Regions from separate parts of the Homo sapiens genome. Here region 2 is linked to region 1. Evidence: promoter capture Hi-C in 16 types of primary human blood cells and fetal thymus (Javierre and others, 2016). All regions are on one chromosome and are shown on one strand. The core of a region is centred on a gene start or on the middle of the fragment in contact, and the rest is flanking DNA. Distances in the headings are between cores, read along the strand shown. Region 1 holds the start of STYX (serine/threonine/tyrosine interacting protein). Region 2 overlaps RTRAF (RNA transcription, translation and transport factor).

The links. The method cuts DNA at HindIII sites, captures the fragments that hold promoters and counts their contacts. A CHiCAGO score of 5 or more calls a contact.
Region 2: a contact is called between a fragment that was not itself captured here and the fragment with the promoter of STYX in region 1, in 4 of 17 cell types (naive CD8 T cells, naive B cells, total B cells and 1 more). The highest score is 11.5, in naive CD8 T cells.

Annotation. Positions count from the first base shown.
Region 1 is chr14:52,725,017-52,732,478 of GRCh38, forward strand. STYX (serine/threonine/tyrosine interacting protein) reads left to right here and starts at 5,150. Exons shown (of 11, transcript NM_145251.4): 1 at 5,150-5,515. The coding sequence starts at 5,459. PSMC6 (proteasome 26S subunit, ATPase 6) reads left to right here. Exons shown (of 14, transcript NM_002806.5): 14 at 2,483-3,574. The coding sequence ends at 2,601. RefSeq lists silencers at 4,835-5,294, 5,365-5,444. The HindIII fragment of the contact is 7,384 bases long and covers 2,826-7,462 here.
Region 2 is chr14:51,990,386-51,997,241 of GRCh38, forward strand. RTRAF (RNA transcription, translation and transport factor) reads left to right here. Exons shown (of 8, transcript NM_016039.3): 2 at 932-1,056; 3 at 3,338-3,437. It overlaps LOC105370497 (a long non-coding RNA gene), which reads right to left and starts at 199. Exons shown (of 3, transcript XR_007064166.1): 1 at 134-199. The HindIII fragment of the contact is 835 bases long and covers 3,044-3,878 here.

The sequences.
Region 1 (7,462 bases), core at 3,900-6,399:
CAGATACTTCTGTTCACGTCTAGAAATGCTGTCAATGCAAATTAGGGTAAATCATGCTCACAGAGCGTTATCAATAAACTAAACTATTTAGAGGTAAACTGTCATATAGCTTGAACAAGTTAGAGTAATTTATGACATTCTCTTTCCAAAATGTAAACCAGACCAAATTATTATCAGAAGATTGCTTTGGTTAGATTGTAATCCAAATGCAAGCTGTGCAGTGAACCTAAAGGCTGTTGCTATCAAAATATACGCTTTTTTTCCTTACATATTCTTACAAATTTACCTTTAGTTATTGCAAATGAGCTATAACTTCTGTGTGGATTAAAATTGTAGTTCTTTTTTAACTAGGTGGGACATTCACATCTGGAAACATACTGAAATTTTTATCTTCTTTTTAGACTTGAAGGCTTTTTTGTTAACATTTTTCGTAAGTTAAAATACACTTGATTCAACTACAGTTGCCCTTCCTGTTCAGGTCCTGACATTATCTCTTTTGGATTATAATACATCTCTATTTTATTTTTTCTTTTGAGACGGAGTCTCACTCTGGCCCAGGCTGGAGTGCAGTGGCATGATCACTGCTCCCTGTAGCCCAGACCTGATCATTTCTCCTTTATCTTCCAGTAGCTGGGACTATAGGCGTGCGCCACCACACCCAGCTAATTTTTGTATTTTTTGTAGAGACGGGTTTCACCATGTTGTCCAGGCTGGTCTCAAATTCCTGGGCCCAAGTAATCCACCCACCTGGGCCTCCCAAAATGCTGGGATTACAGGCACAAGCTACCAGGCCTGGCCAGGCATCTCTTGTGCAGATTTACTTATTCACTAAAGTGATTTGGAAAATAGCCATGTGTGCAAGGTTTACAAAAATAACTTACCTAGTTTCACTGTAGCTTTCTAAACAAGTTTTGAAACTTTGTTATTTTTTAAAAATCAGTCATTTCCATTCACCCGGTTTCTAGGACAACATAGATTGTTTCCTTATGTAGAAATCTAGAAAGGAAGTAATCCTTGAAATCTTCTATATTAACTCCCTCATTTTATGTAAGTGAAAATTCAATACAGGCAGATCCTCAGTGGAAATTTTAGAATTCATTTAATTAGTAGATAGCAATAAACTTACCTGCTTTAGTTTATCATGAGTTAGGATTATCTCAAAATCTGGGACCCATATCCATAACACAACTAATGTTTAAAAAACTGCATACAAGGAAACTTTTACCCCTTTGTCAAATACTGTTTGAGAAGGTACTTGTCAAAAAGTTGAAGGAAAAAATTGAGTTGTGATACTCAAATATGAATCAAATAAAAATACCAATTTGTACATAAATTAGGTAAATTTTAACACATGAATAATGACTCCGAGTTTTGCTAAAACCCGCTGTTGGCTTTCTATATGATTCCCTATTCTCAACGTTTTTGATTATTAACAAAGAATGGCTATCAAACTTACTCAAGATTTTTTTTCCCCCATAAATGTGTGCCTTCCAGCAAATTGCTTCCTGTCAAGTTAAGTTACGCTTAAAATGTGTATGTGTTGGTAGTTTTGATTGCTTCGGTTTTTTATGCTTGTTTTTATTAAGAGCTACAATCAGATACAGGGACCATTTAAGCCTGATTTTATTTTATTTTATTTTTTTGAGACAGAGCCTCACTCTGTCACCCAGACTGGAGTGCAGTGGTGCGATCTTGGCTCACTGCAACCTCTGCCTCCCGGGTTCAAGCGATTCTCCTGCCTCAGCCTCCCAAGTAGCTGGGGTTACAGATGCCCACTACTACGCCCAGCTAATTTTTGTGTTTTTAGTAGAAACGGGGTTTTACCATGTTGGCTAGGCTGGTCTCGAACTCCCGACCCCAGGTAATCCGTCCACCTTGGCCTCCCAAAGTGTTGGGATTACAGGTGTGAGCCACCGTGCCCAGCCTTGAACCGGATGTTAAATATTCATATAATGGTCATACCTGTTTTTGTTTTAGAACATAATCACAACACCGCTATGGATTTTTTTTTTTTTTTTTTTTTGAGATGGGGTCTCGCTCTGTTGCCAGGCTGGAGTGCAGTGCCACTATCTCAGCTCACTGCAACCTCCGCCTCCTGGGTTCAAGCCATTCTCCTGCCTTAGCCTCCCGAGTAGCTGGGACTACAGGCGCGCGCCACCATGCCCAGCTAATTTTTTTTTTTTTTTGTATTTTTAGTAGAGATGGGGTTTCACCGTGTTGGCCAGGATGGTCTTAATCTCTTGACATTGCAATCTGCCCATCTTGGCCTCCCAAAGTGTTGGGATTACAGGCGTGAGCCACCGCACCCGGCCTGTGGATTTTAATTGAAAAAAGATAGTGGTTTTTAGCAAATTACAACTACTGGCTCAGAAGTAATAAATCTAAGCTTCACATTTATTCCATAGAATTATATTGTTTTTCTTATAATGAACATATAATTCATATGTGATATATAGCAGTCATGTTGTTTTATTCTCTACAGGTATGTTCGCAATTCGTGCTGATCATGATTTTGTAGTACAGGAAGACTTCATGAAAGCAGTCAGAAAAGTGGCTGATTCTAAGAAGCTGGAGTCTAAATTGGACTACAAACCTGTGTAATTTACTGTAAGATTTTTGATGGCTGCATGACAGATGTTGGCTTATTGTAAAAATAAAGTTAAAGAAAATAATGTATGTATTGGTAATGATGTCATTAAAAGTATATGAATAAAAATATGAGTAACATCATAAAAATTAGTAATTCAACTTTTAAGATACAGAAGAAATTTGTATGTTTGTTAAAGTTGCATTTATTGCAGCAAGTTACAAAGGGAAAGTGTTGAAGCTTTTCATATTTGCTGCGTGAGCATTTTGTAAAATATTGAAAGTGGTTTGAGATAGTGGTATAAGAAAGCATTTCTTATGACTTATTTTGTATCATTTGTTTTCCTCATCTAAAAAGTTGAATAAAATCTGTTTGATTCAGTTCTCCTACATATATATTCTTGTCTTTTCTGAGTATATTTACTGTGGTCCTTTAGGTTCTTTAGCAAGTAAACTATTTGATAACCCAGATGGATTGTGGATTTTTGAATATTATTTTAAAATAGTACACATACTTAATGTTCATAAGATCATCTTCTTAAATAAAACATGGATGTGTGGGTATGTCTGTACTCCTCCTTTCAGAAAGTGTTTACATATTCTTCATCTACTGTGATTAAGCTCATTGTTGGTTAATTGAAAATATACATGCACATCCATAACTTTTTAAAGAGTATGATTCAACGTAATATTTGCTAATATGTGACTGGGTTTTCTTGGTTTATGTAAGACGATAGGTCCCTGTTGAGGATGTGGAGGTCTGGACCCTCTTCCAGGAAAAATTCTAACATACAATTTTGCGTATACTATAATTTCAGGAAATTTATTGTTTCCCAAGCTCATCCAAGGACTCTTTAGGTATGTATGGATACCTGGCTAAGAGTGTATGATGTAGGGGATGTAGGAGTGTCAGAAATGTTCAAAACATGATTTCTGTTACCTATACATGATTCTTATATCATCTGGCAATAAAAGCTATAACAAAGTACACAAAGGAATCATCATTGGGCATCAATAATTATTAAAGATGCTGGTGAAAAGAAAAGACAACTTCAGTTTCATAAACACTAAAGAACCAAAAATACATGACCTAGCTAATTATACAATAATTCTTCAAATTAAAAACTTCCTAGCAGGATATTATGTGCCTTTTTATAATTTTAGAAGATGAACAGTTAAAATAGAAAATGGAGTGGTCAAGTTAGCCATCTCATACTCAAATTATTGTACAGTTCTATTTCTATGTGTTGGCAGTGCATTTTATGTGACAAAAAGTAGAATGTAGGGGGAGGTTTAAGTCAAATATCTATGTGATCTTTTCACTTATAATTTGCATTTAGTTAAGGAGTGACTATCTTGCCTTTTACCTTTGTGCTGGCGGTGGTTTTTTAAAGAATCAATTTGGTGTACAAATCCTTTCTTTCTTTTTTTATTTTTGATTTTTTTTGAGATGGAGTTTCGCTCTTGTTGCCCAGGCTGTAGTGCCATTGCACTATCTCAGCTCATTGCAACCTCCGCCTCCCGGATTTAAGCGGTTCTCCTGCCTCAGCCTTCTAAGTAGCTGCGATTACTGGCATGCGCCACCACACCCAGCTAATTTTTGTATTTTTAGTAGAGACGGGGTTTCTCCATGTTGGTCAGGCTGGTCTCAAACTCCCGACCTCAGGTGATCCACACGCCTCAGCCGCCCAAAGTGCTGGGATTACAGGCGTGAGCCTCCGCGCCCGGCCCAAATCTTTTCACCATGGGTTTACAGGCATAACGCCACCACACCCAGGGAATTTTAAAATTGTTTTTTAGAGAGGGGGGTCTTACTATTTTGCTCAGGCTGGCAAACTCCTTTTAAAAGATATTGAAAGCCATCTGGTTTATTATTTTTATTTCAAAATATAATAATGGAAGAAATTTTACAGTATTATATACAATTTACTGAGTCAGCTATCAGTTCCTTTTTCTGATTTTTTTCTAGTTGCCATTCTTGATATTTTCTAGGTAATCTAAACTGAGTTGTATTTTCAAGTACTCTTAAAATACTTTAAAAAATTTTAAATTGAGCCGTTTAATTCTTTGCTTAAAGGTGATGGGTATTTTATTTTCTGTATGGCACCACGTGATTTTAAATTGAACTCTTCATTTATTAGTCATTTGGTTATAAACTCAGCATAGATTGCGCAGAATTTTGAGAGGGGAGAAACTATAGCTTTCCTTTCGGATGCCACTGGTGGGTAGCCTGTTTTGCCTGTTTGTTCTTATGTTAAAGAAGGGCTCTACGTCCTGTCTGGAAAGGGCGGAGCTGGCTCGGACCGCCCCACTGCCTTTCCCAGGACCTTCACTCGTCCTGTCCCACCGCAGCCCCGCCTCCTCCACGCCGGGTGAGCTGTGGCCTAGCAGCATCCGAGGCTCCGCCCCCCCCACCCCCAAGCGTCTGCGCTCTAGCGAAGGGGCGGAGCAGGGCGGTGGCGCGCTGACACCTGGCGGCGGCGGAGGGCGGGCAGAAGGCGAGCGTGGGCTGGGATTGGCTGAGGCGACGCGGGTGGAGGGGGCGGGAAGGAGGCGGGGAGACGGTTGTCGGGCTGGTTCCTGTGCTGGATCCTGGGCGGCCTGAGGGGTACGGAGACTCTGGGGGAGGGAGACGGCAGCGGCATGGCGGCCGGGTGTAAGACGCCCGACCCTCCTCTTCCCTGTCTTCGCCGCCGCCGCTGCTGGAGTCACTGGGACCCTGTAGTCTGCGTGTGTTAGTTGTAATCCCGCCGCCCTCCTGTCAGCCCTCCGCTCCGCCGGCCCTCCTTCCTTCCGCCGCCGCAGCCAGCCCGAGGGTCGGCCGGCTGTGTAACACTCTCCCACCCCACCCACCAGCCCGCGGGCCAGCACCATGGAGGACGTGAAGCTGGAGTTCCCTTCCCTTCCACAGTGCAAGGAAGACGCCGAGGTGAGTCGCTCCCGTGGCTGCCACGCACAGGCCTCTCCCTGTGGCTCCGGCCGAGGGGCGACCCCAGTCCCCAACCGTCTTAGCCGCCACCTGTACGGGCGCCCTGCCTCCTAAGGGCGTCCCGGGACCTCTGAAGCCGAGCGGTCGGCTCCAATCCCCACTGAGTTGCTCGTCCTCTCCAGACCCCGCGGAGGGGCAGCGTCTGGTGTACTTACATTTGAGAAGAGGAAAAGCAATCCCTTAGTCCCTAGGCTTGGCATCCAGGACTGACCTGGAGTAAGGTTCCTCTTTTATTGTCAAAGTAACAAGAGAGCGAAGTTGGTTTAGTCTCCTTTTGAGGAATATCTGTGGTGTAAACGATTCACTTGTGGGACACATGGCCCCACATGTGAAATAGACTCGGCGCCTGAAGTTTGGAAGCGCGCCTTCGAAAAGTTTCCCAAAGTTTTTTGTTTGTTTTTAGACAAAGCTATGACCCGCACAACAAAGTGTCTCAAAGCTAGCTCATCTTAATCTGAGAACTCTTAATCAGAAATCTTGACCTTTGGAGGAAAATTAATATTGAAAGTAAAATACTATATACCTTTTCTCCTGGTTTCTAATTTGTGGCTATTTTTACTCCACCTTAGATCCCTGCCTGCTGTTTCTACTCGGATTTTTTTTCATCTGTTGCTAGTTTAACATTTTACGGCATTGCAGACTACTAAATTAGAATTTTCTGGAGGCTAAATTAACAAGACGAAGATACTCAGCTATACTTTAGTAGGATTAAGAAAGAAAATCTAACATCGCTAGTTAAAAATACCTTTAAAGTAGTTGGGAAAAATAAAGCCCTATTTTTAGGAGACCATTCAATTTATTCCGAATATTTATTCTATTGAATATCTTCATTGGAGGTTCACTTTTTTTTTTTTTTTTTTTTTGAGACGGAGTCTTGCTCTGTCGCCAGGCTGGAGTGCAATGTGGCGCGATCTCGGCTCACTGCAACCTCCGCCTTCCGGGTTCAAGCGATTCTCCTGCCTCAGCCTCCTGAGTAGCTGGAACTACAGGCGCGCACCACCACGCCCAGCTAATTTTTGTGTTTTTAGGGGAGACGGGTTTCACCATTTTGGCCAGGGTGGTCTCGATCTCCTGACCTTGTGATCCGCCCGACTCGGCCTCCCAAAGTGCTGAAATTGCAGGTATGAGCCACCGCGCCCGGCCTAGGTTCACATTTTTGTTTGGAGGGCTCTCTTGTGGTATTGATGCTTGACAATTACATTTGTTTTAAGAGTAGAGACTTTGTTTGTGACTATCACTGTTGCAAAATGTAGTGCAGTGGTGTGATCTCGGTTCACTGCAGTCTCGAACTCCCATGCTCAAGCCATCCTTTCACCTCAGCCTCTGGAGTAGCTGGGACCATGCCGGGCTAATTTTTCTTTTTTTTTTTTTTTGTAGCGATGGGTTTTTTCTCCAGGCTGGTCTCGAACTCTTGGCCTCAAGATCCTCCCGCCTTGTCCTCCGAAAGTGTTGGGATTACAGGTGTGAGCCACTGCACCTGGCCCAAGAATATACTCATGGTTTTTTTTTTTTTTTTTTTTTTGACACAGAGTTTCACTCTTGTTGCCCCAGGCTGGAGTGCAGTGGCGCTGTCTCAGCCCACCGCAGCCTCTGCCTCGGGTCCCGGTTCAAACAGTTCTCCTGCCTAAGCCTCCTGAGTAGCTGGGGATTACAGGCGCGCACCGCCAGGCCCAGCTTTTTTTTTTTTTTTTTTGAGACAGAGTCTCACTCTGTCGCCCAGGCTGGAATGATCTTGCAGTGGTGCGATCTGGGCTCACTGCAAGCTCTGCCTCCCGTGTTCACGCCATTCTCCCGCCTCAGCCTCCCGAGTAGCTGGGACTGCAGGCACCCGCTACCACACCGGGCTAATTTTTTTGTATTTTTAGTAGAGACGGGGTTTCACCATGT
Region 2 (6,856 bases), core at 2,211-4,710, 740 kb before region 1:
ACTACTCGTTTCCTTTGTATAGTTGTGGCCTGTGATAGACTGGTAAGTTTGAAAGTGATCAAGTATAACTTGTGATACTCAGACCACTGTGTAATTCTCAAGACCTTATAATGGAAGCTTGAATTTGACTCACAAATTGAAAATAATTTCTAAGCAGGATGACAGTGTTTTGTTGATCGCCTGTAGAAGCATATCAAATTATAATCTATTGTTTTTCTACTTTAACAAAAAAGTATCAGTGACAATAGAGCCTTGTTCTGGATTGGAATCTTTGAGTCTCAATGTTCTTATCTGTAAAATGGGATATTACCTACCTCAAAAGAGGTATGGGGAGGATTAAACGAAACAATTATGCACTTAATGTGCAGTTAACATTCCATGACAACAGTTGTCACAGTGTCTTTTTTGTCATTTAATTTCTTTTACTTATTATTTTGTTGTATATTTTACTTTATTACTTTGCTATAAATTTAACCTTGCCCTCCTTCCCCTTTCTGTCCGCAAAGGAACTGGAATATTAATATGTAACACTTAAATAGCAAAACTATGTGCCAGGCACTGTTTTTATCCGTATTTATTTTATTTAAGAAACTTCTTAAATAAAACAACTTCTTTTAATCTTCATAACTCTATGAGGTAAGTTCTATTAGCACCCTCATTTTGTAGCTGAAGAGTCTGAGGCACAGAAAATGTGGGTGATTATCCCAAGTTCACACAACCAGTAAGTATCTGGACCCAGGATTTGAACAGATCATTGTTAATCTGTACTTTCAACTCCAGAATCTGTACTTTCAACTCCCTCTTTTGGTTCAATTAATTTAGTATTTTGAAGTTAAGAAAATTCCACAAGAACATATATCTGAACATATACCTGAGAAGGAGGTATTTTATGTAGTGCTTCTAGTTATTTATGTGATATTTTTTATTGCAGATGAAACAGAATTTAGAAACTTCATCGTTTGGCTTGAAGACCAGAAAATCAGGCACTACAAGATTGAAGACAGAGGGAATTTAAGAAACATCCACAGCAGCGACTGGCCCAAGTTCTTTGAAAAGGTAATGAATTAGGAAGTAAAGTAAAAATACAGAGAGTTTGTCTGAAAAATCATGAAGATGAGCTTAAAATTACTTTCTTCTTTTAAGAAAAAAATGATAATGATCAGTGTTAGGAAAGCTGGATTTCAGGGATTTTGCTTTTTTCTTAGATGTGTCTTTTGCTTTTAGAGCAAATTATTTTATGTCTTCCTACCAAGCTTTCAGTATTAGGTAGAAATAGTTTTCTCTAGAAACATGAAGTTTCTTAAATAAATAATGATGTAAATATTTCGCTTTCCCTTTATGGCCCAAATCAGAATTTTTGTTAAACACAGTACTATTTCTTATATTAAAAGAAGACATTGGCTAGGTGTGATGGCTAACACCTATAATGCCAGCACTTTGGGAGGCTGAGGTGGCAGATCATTTGAGCTCAGGAGTTCTGACAGCAGCCTGGGCAACATGATGAAACCCTGTCTCTACAAGAAAATAGAAAGTTATCTGGGTGTGCTGGCCTGTGTCTGTAGTGTCAGCTAATTGGGAGGCTGAGGTTCTCCAGCCTGGGCGACAGAGTGACACCTTGTCTCAAAAAAAGACATTATTGAGATGCTTGAAAACCAAGACTGTCGTGTTTATGCTTATATTTAATGTAAACAGATATCCCTTGTTGTATGCTAGGGAAATAGTCCTTAAATGATCTCTGGTATATCATATTTTTGTGCCTTGAATCATTTTCCCATTGATTTAGTTTTAGTAACACTTTTGCATAAAAAAGAATTCTCAGATTAGAATAAAAATGCTTTTAGTGTCATTTCTTACATTAAACATTTTCATCAGTTATATTTGATGAGTGAGATATTTTTCTTGAAAAAGGCTAAGTTTTTCATTTGCGAGAGCAGTGTGATTAGGCACTTTCTCCCTAGAATCAGTGATTTTATAAATTAGGGATTGTATAAATTACATCATTGTTATTAACCTTTCCGTGTCTCAATTTTTTCATCAATAAGTGAGGGTAACAATGATACCTATCTCATAAGTGTGGCTTTGTTTTTAATGAGTAATTGTTCACAGAAGTCCCTGGCGCATAGCAAGTGTGATAAGCTTATTACTGCCAATGCCTCTATACTACTACTATTAATACTACTGTATTCTTTTCCTTTGCTCTTAGAAAATATTTTTAAAATTTTCAGTGGACTTCTTAAAACTTTGAAATATATTTTTAGGATTTTATGTTTGTTTATATTACATTTTATGGTCTATTCATGTGTACAAGACAGTACAGAATTCTGCATGTAGAAAGGTATCTGGAGAATATAAAAAATTGTCTAGGCTGGGCACGGTGGCTCATGCCTATAATCCAAGCAGTTTGGGAAGCCAAGATGGGTGGATCACCTGAGGTCAGGGGTTCGAGACCAGCCGGGCCAACGTGGCGAAACCCCGTCTCTACTAAAAACACAAAATTAGCCAGGTGTGGTGGCGCATGTGTGTAATCTCAGCTGCCCAGGGGGCTGAGCCAGGAGAATCATTTGAACTCAGGAGGCGGAGGTTGCAGTGAGCCAAGATTGTGCCATTGCACTCCAGCCTGGGCAACAGAACAAGACTCTGTCTCAAAAAAAAGAAATATGTATGTATGTGTGTGTATATATGTACATATACACACACGTATTTCTGATGTGAAACACCTGGAATGACAGTAAGAATAATTTCAACATATCAGAACCTAAACAGTTATTATCCTTCAAGTTGATTTTATTATAATCTTATATTACATATAATTAATGTTACATATAATACTATTATATGCAACATTTATTTGAATATACAGCTTCTGACATTTATTTAAATTACTTGGTTACACCCTACATGTATGTTACATGGCTACTCTTTTCAGTGGCATTTCCATAATATGAAAGTTAAGGTTTAGATAGATAATGATTTATTGTATATCCTTTTTAAAGTTATTCTTTTTAGTTAATTGCTCTATGTGTATTGAGACTAGGAATCAGAAAGCTTAGATTCTAGTCCCAGGTGTAAGTTGTGTAACCCTTGGCAAGTGTCAATCTCTAGGCCTCAGCTTTCTCATCTATAAAATGAGGAAGTTGTCGTATTCTATTTTTTTTCTTAAGATGATACACTTAAATGTTCCCTTCTGTTGGGTTATATAATTGCATCAAAAGTGTAGTAATGTTATTAAAAAATTGTTAGAGATCCAAACTAAGGTCTCTTTCAACTCTCCCATTCTTTTTTCTGTGACTTTATGGTAATAATGAAACTGGTGGTTTTCTTTTCTTCCCCCTCACAGTATCTCAGAGATGTTAACTGTCCTTTCAAGATTCAAGATCGACAAGAAGCTATTGACTGGCTTCTTGGTTTAGCTGTTAGACTTGAATATGGAGATAATGGTACGTTTTGTGGGGAATGTGTATTTTAAAGAGAGAGGAAAGATGGGAAAGGGAGTGTGAAAATGTAGGGAACTTTGCAGTTTGTTTTGTCTAGTACTATTTTACCTTTGGTTTATTCTTATCACAAGTTAAAAGCACTTTTATTGTCTTTCATTGGTGTTTATATATTTCTGTTAGAATTTGGAAATGGTGCCCTCTGGAGAAGGCTAATTGACTGTCTTCTCACAGAGTAACACTACTTTGATAATATGGTCTGCACCTTAGCCTTTCAAATTAAATTGTTTTTAGTGTCCCAGAATTGATGGGACTTTGAAGTGTTGTTGCAGTAGGTAATTTCTCAAAAGACTGAAACATGTCTAATGCCAATATACATTAATACTCTATAGGCCAGAATATATTACTTATGTTTACTGTCTTAGCACAGATACTTCTATGGTTGGAAGCTTCTGAATGTTAGTACCTATAGTAAAAACAATTTTTCTTTAAACGGGTGTTTTCTCTTATTAGACCATTTCATTTTGAAAGGCCTGCCAACATCTAAATGCAAGATTTGATTATCTTATCTGCATCCCCTGCATTTTGTGTTTTTCGGTTAGTTACAGTCTTCTTAATTATTTACTTTGGAAGCCTTTTTATATCTTGGCTTATCCCTTTCCCTTCATCCCACCTACACTGACTTTTTCTCATGTTTGTTGTATCTTCATTCCCATTGGCATAATCCTAATTCAGGCTCTTGTCACTTTCTGCCAGGAGTATTATAATATCTCCCATTAGTGTCACCTTCTGTTCTTAACTGCATGGCCAACCAAGCTAACTTTCTGAAACGTTAATCTATTTTAGGATGCCACTTACTCCTTGTTTCCAAAGAACAGTTCCAGTTACATATTCATATTAATAAACATACATATCCATAAACACTAATTTCCCATTTTCTATAAAAAGAATTTTAAGCTCCTTAGCATGGTAGTTAATGATGACTGATATCCAACCTGTATTCACATCTTGACATCCCAGCTAAATTAGAATAATAGTGCTTCCTGTTTATATCCCATTTCCCCCTCTGTTTCTTTGTTCACACTTTTCCCTTGGCTAATATACCATTTCATTCTATCTACACATCTAAATCCTACCCATCTTTTTAAGATCCATCTCATATGCTGTCTTATGTCTTAGCAGCAGTATAATTTCCCTCTGAACTTCCATAGCTTTTAACCCTATACATTTTAAGTCATTAACCACTTTCCATTTTGCTTCTATGTCTTATTCGTCCCAGTAATTTGTAAACTGATACTCAGCTTTGATTCCTACATGGTACCTCTCTTAGCTTCCAATTGATGCTGTAACAAATTACTACAAACTCAGTGACTGAAAACACAATTTATTATTTTAGAATGAGAAGGCCAACATTAGCCTCACTGGGTTCATGTCAAGTTGTCAGCAAGGCAGGTTCCTTTTGGAGGCTCTCGGGGGAATCTGTTTCTTTCCTTTTTTAACTTCTAGAGGCTGCCTGAATTCCTTGACTCTGGCCCCTTCTTCCTTCTTCAAGTCTAGCAGCATAGCATTTTCCAGTCTCTTATCTGATTCTGCTTCCATTGTCATAACTTTGTCTCTGGCTCTGATCCTCCTGAGCCCACCTGGATAATCCAGGATAATCCCCTATCTCAAGATCCTTAATTTTATCATATTTGCAAATCTTGCCATGTAAGGTAACACATACACAGGTTCCAGGGATCAGGACATGGACATCTTGGGGGGTACAGGTCAATATTGTGTCTGTCACAGTACCTGACATAGTTTCTTGCACACAACAGGTGCTTATCAATTTCAGTAATGTGTGGCGAATGCAGTATATGTGAGTGTTTACATACACTGATTTGGAGCATCAGCCAATTTTTTGCTGATGCCTCAGACTTAAATTTCAGAAGCCTTATGGCAAAAATCTTAAGGAAAGCTCAATTTGAGACTTCGTTTACTTTTCCATTTAATTTAAAAAAAAAAAACTTTTCTTTCTTTAGAAAATACATGTATTCATAAGCCTTATGGCTTTAGTGTAGTATTGATTTTAGGGCCTTTAACAAGGTCTTTTTATCTACCCTGCTCTGGATTGGTAGGAATTGTATATGAGCCAATTTGTAGCTTATCAAAACTGTTTTTCATTTATTCCCAAATTCTTACATCTCAGTTTATTTGTTTTATTCTATTTGTTCCATTTTTATAACCCGTTAACCTTCAATGGTAGATGCATATGGTCATGTATACCTGCAGTTGACTTTAGTAAGTACATGTATTTCTCAGTAATAGCATGTTCTTTTAGTGAATAAAAGAAGCTTGTGTGTGGAATGTAAATTTTTCAATATTGAAAAAGGAAGTCAACATATACTTGAAGGTGAATGGTATCAAAAGTATATTAAAAGTCTAAGCTAGAAAACAAGTTTTGTTTATTAAAATTCAGAATTGCAAAAACAGACTTGAAAATTGGTCAAATAATACTGTCTCTAATCGGTAGGAGGCGCTGATGTTCTTTTGTGGTTTTACATTGATATGTTGCCTCCTTGACTTTTAAGTTACTTATTTTAAAATTTGCTGAAACCATTGTGAGTTTTTATTATTTGCGCTCTACTATTTTTTGAAGCCTTTTGGTAGCTTGTCAACATGATCAATAACTGAAATTTTTTAAATGTATAATTTCAGATGTATAGAAAAATTACAAAATAGTACAAAGATTTTCATATACCTCAAGTCTACAAATGTAGCGTGTTACCTCATTTGCTTCATCCTTCTCTCTACACAGAGGCACACACCATTTTTTTCCAAACCATTTGATAGTAAATTATAGATGATTCCTTTTTACTCTTAAACACTTTAAAGTGCATTTCCTAAAAACAACTTTGTCTTATATAACCACAGTACAGTGATCAAAATCAGGAAGTTATCTTTGATATACTATTATTTATTCACATTTTACCAAACCCCCCACTTCTCTCGAAAGAAAAAAATAACCCAGAGCAATCCTGGATTATGCACCGCATTAGTTGTTACATCTGTCTTAGTATCTTAAAATCTGGAACAGTTCCTGTCTTTATTTGTGCTTCATGACCCTGACATTTATTTTGTAGAGTGTCCCTCAATTTGGATTTATATGATGTTTCCTCATGATTAGATTTGGGGTTTATACTTTTGTTAGGAGTAACACAGAAGTGATGTGTTCTTTTTAGTGCATCATATTAGGAGATACGTGATAGCGATATGTCCCATTACTAGTTATGTTACTTTGATCACTAGGTTATGGTTTCTCCACTGTAAAGTTACTATTTTCCTCTTTGTAATAAATATATCTTGTGGGGAGGTACTTTGAGACTGTATCAATTATGTTTTTGCGCCTCAAGTTTCCCCCACTAGTTTTAGCAACCATATGATGA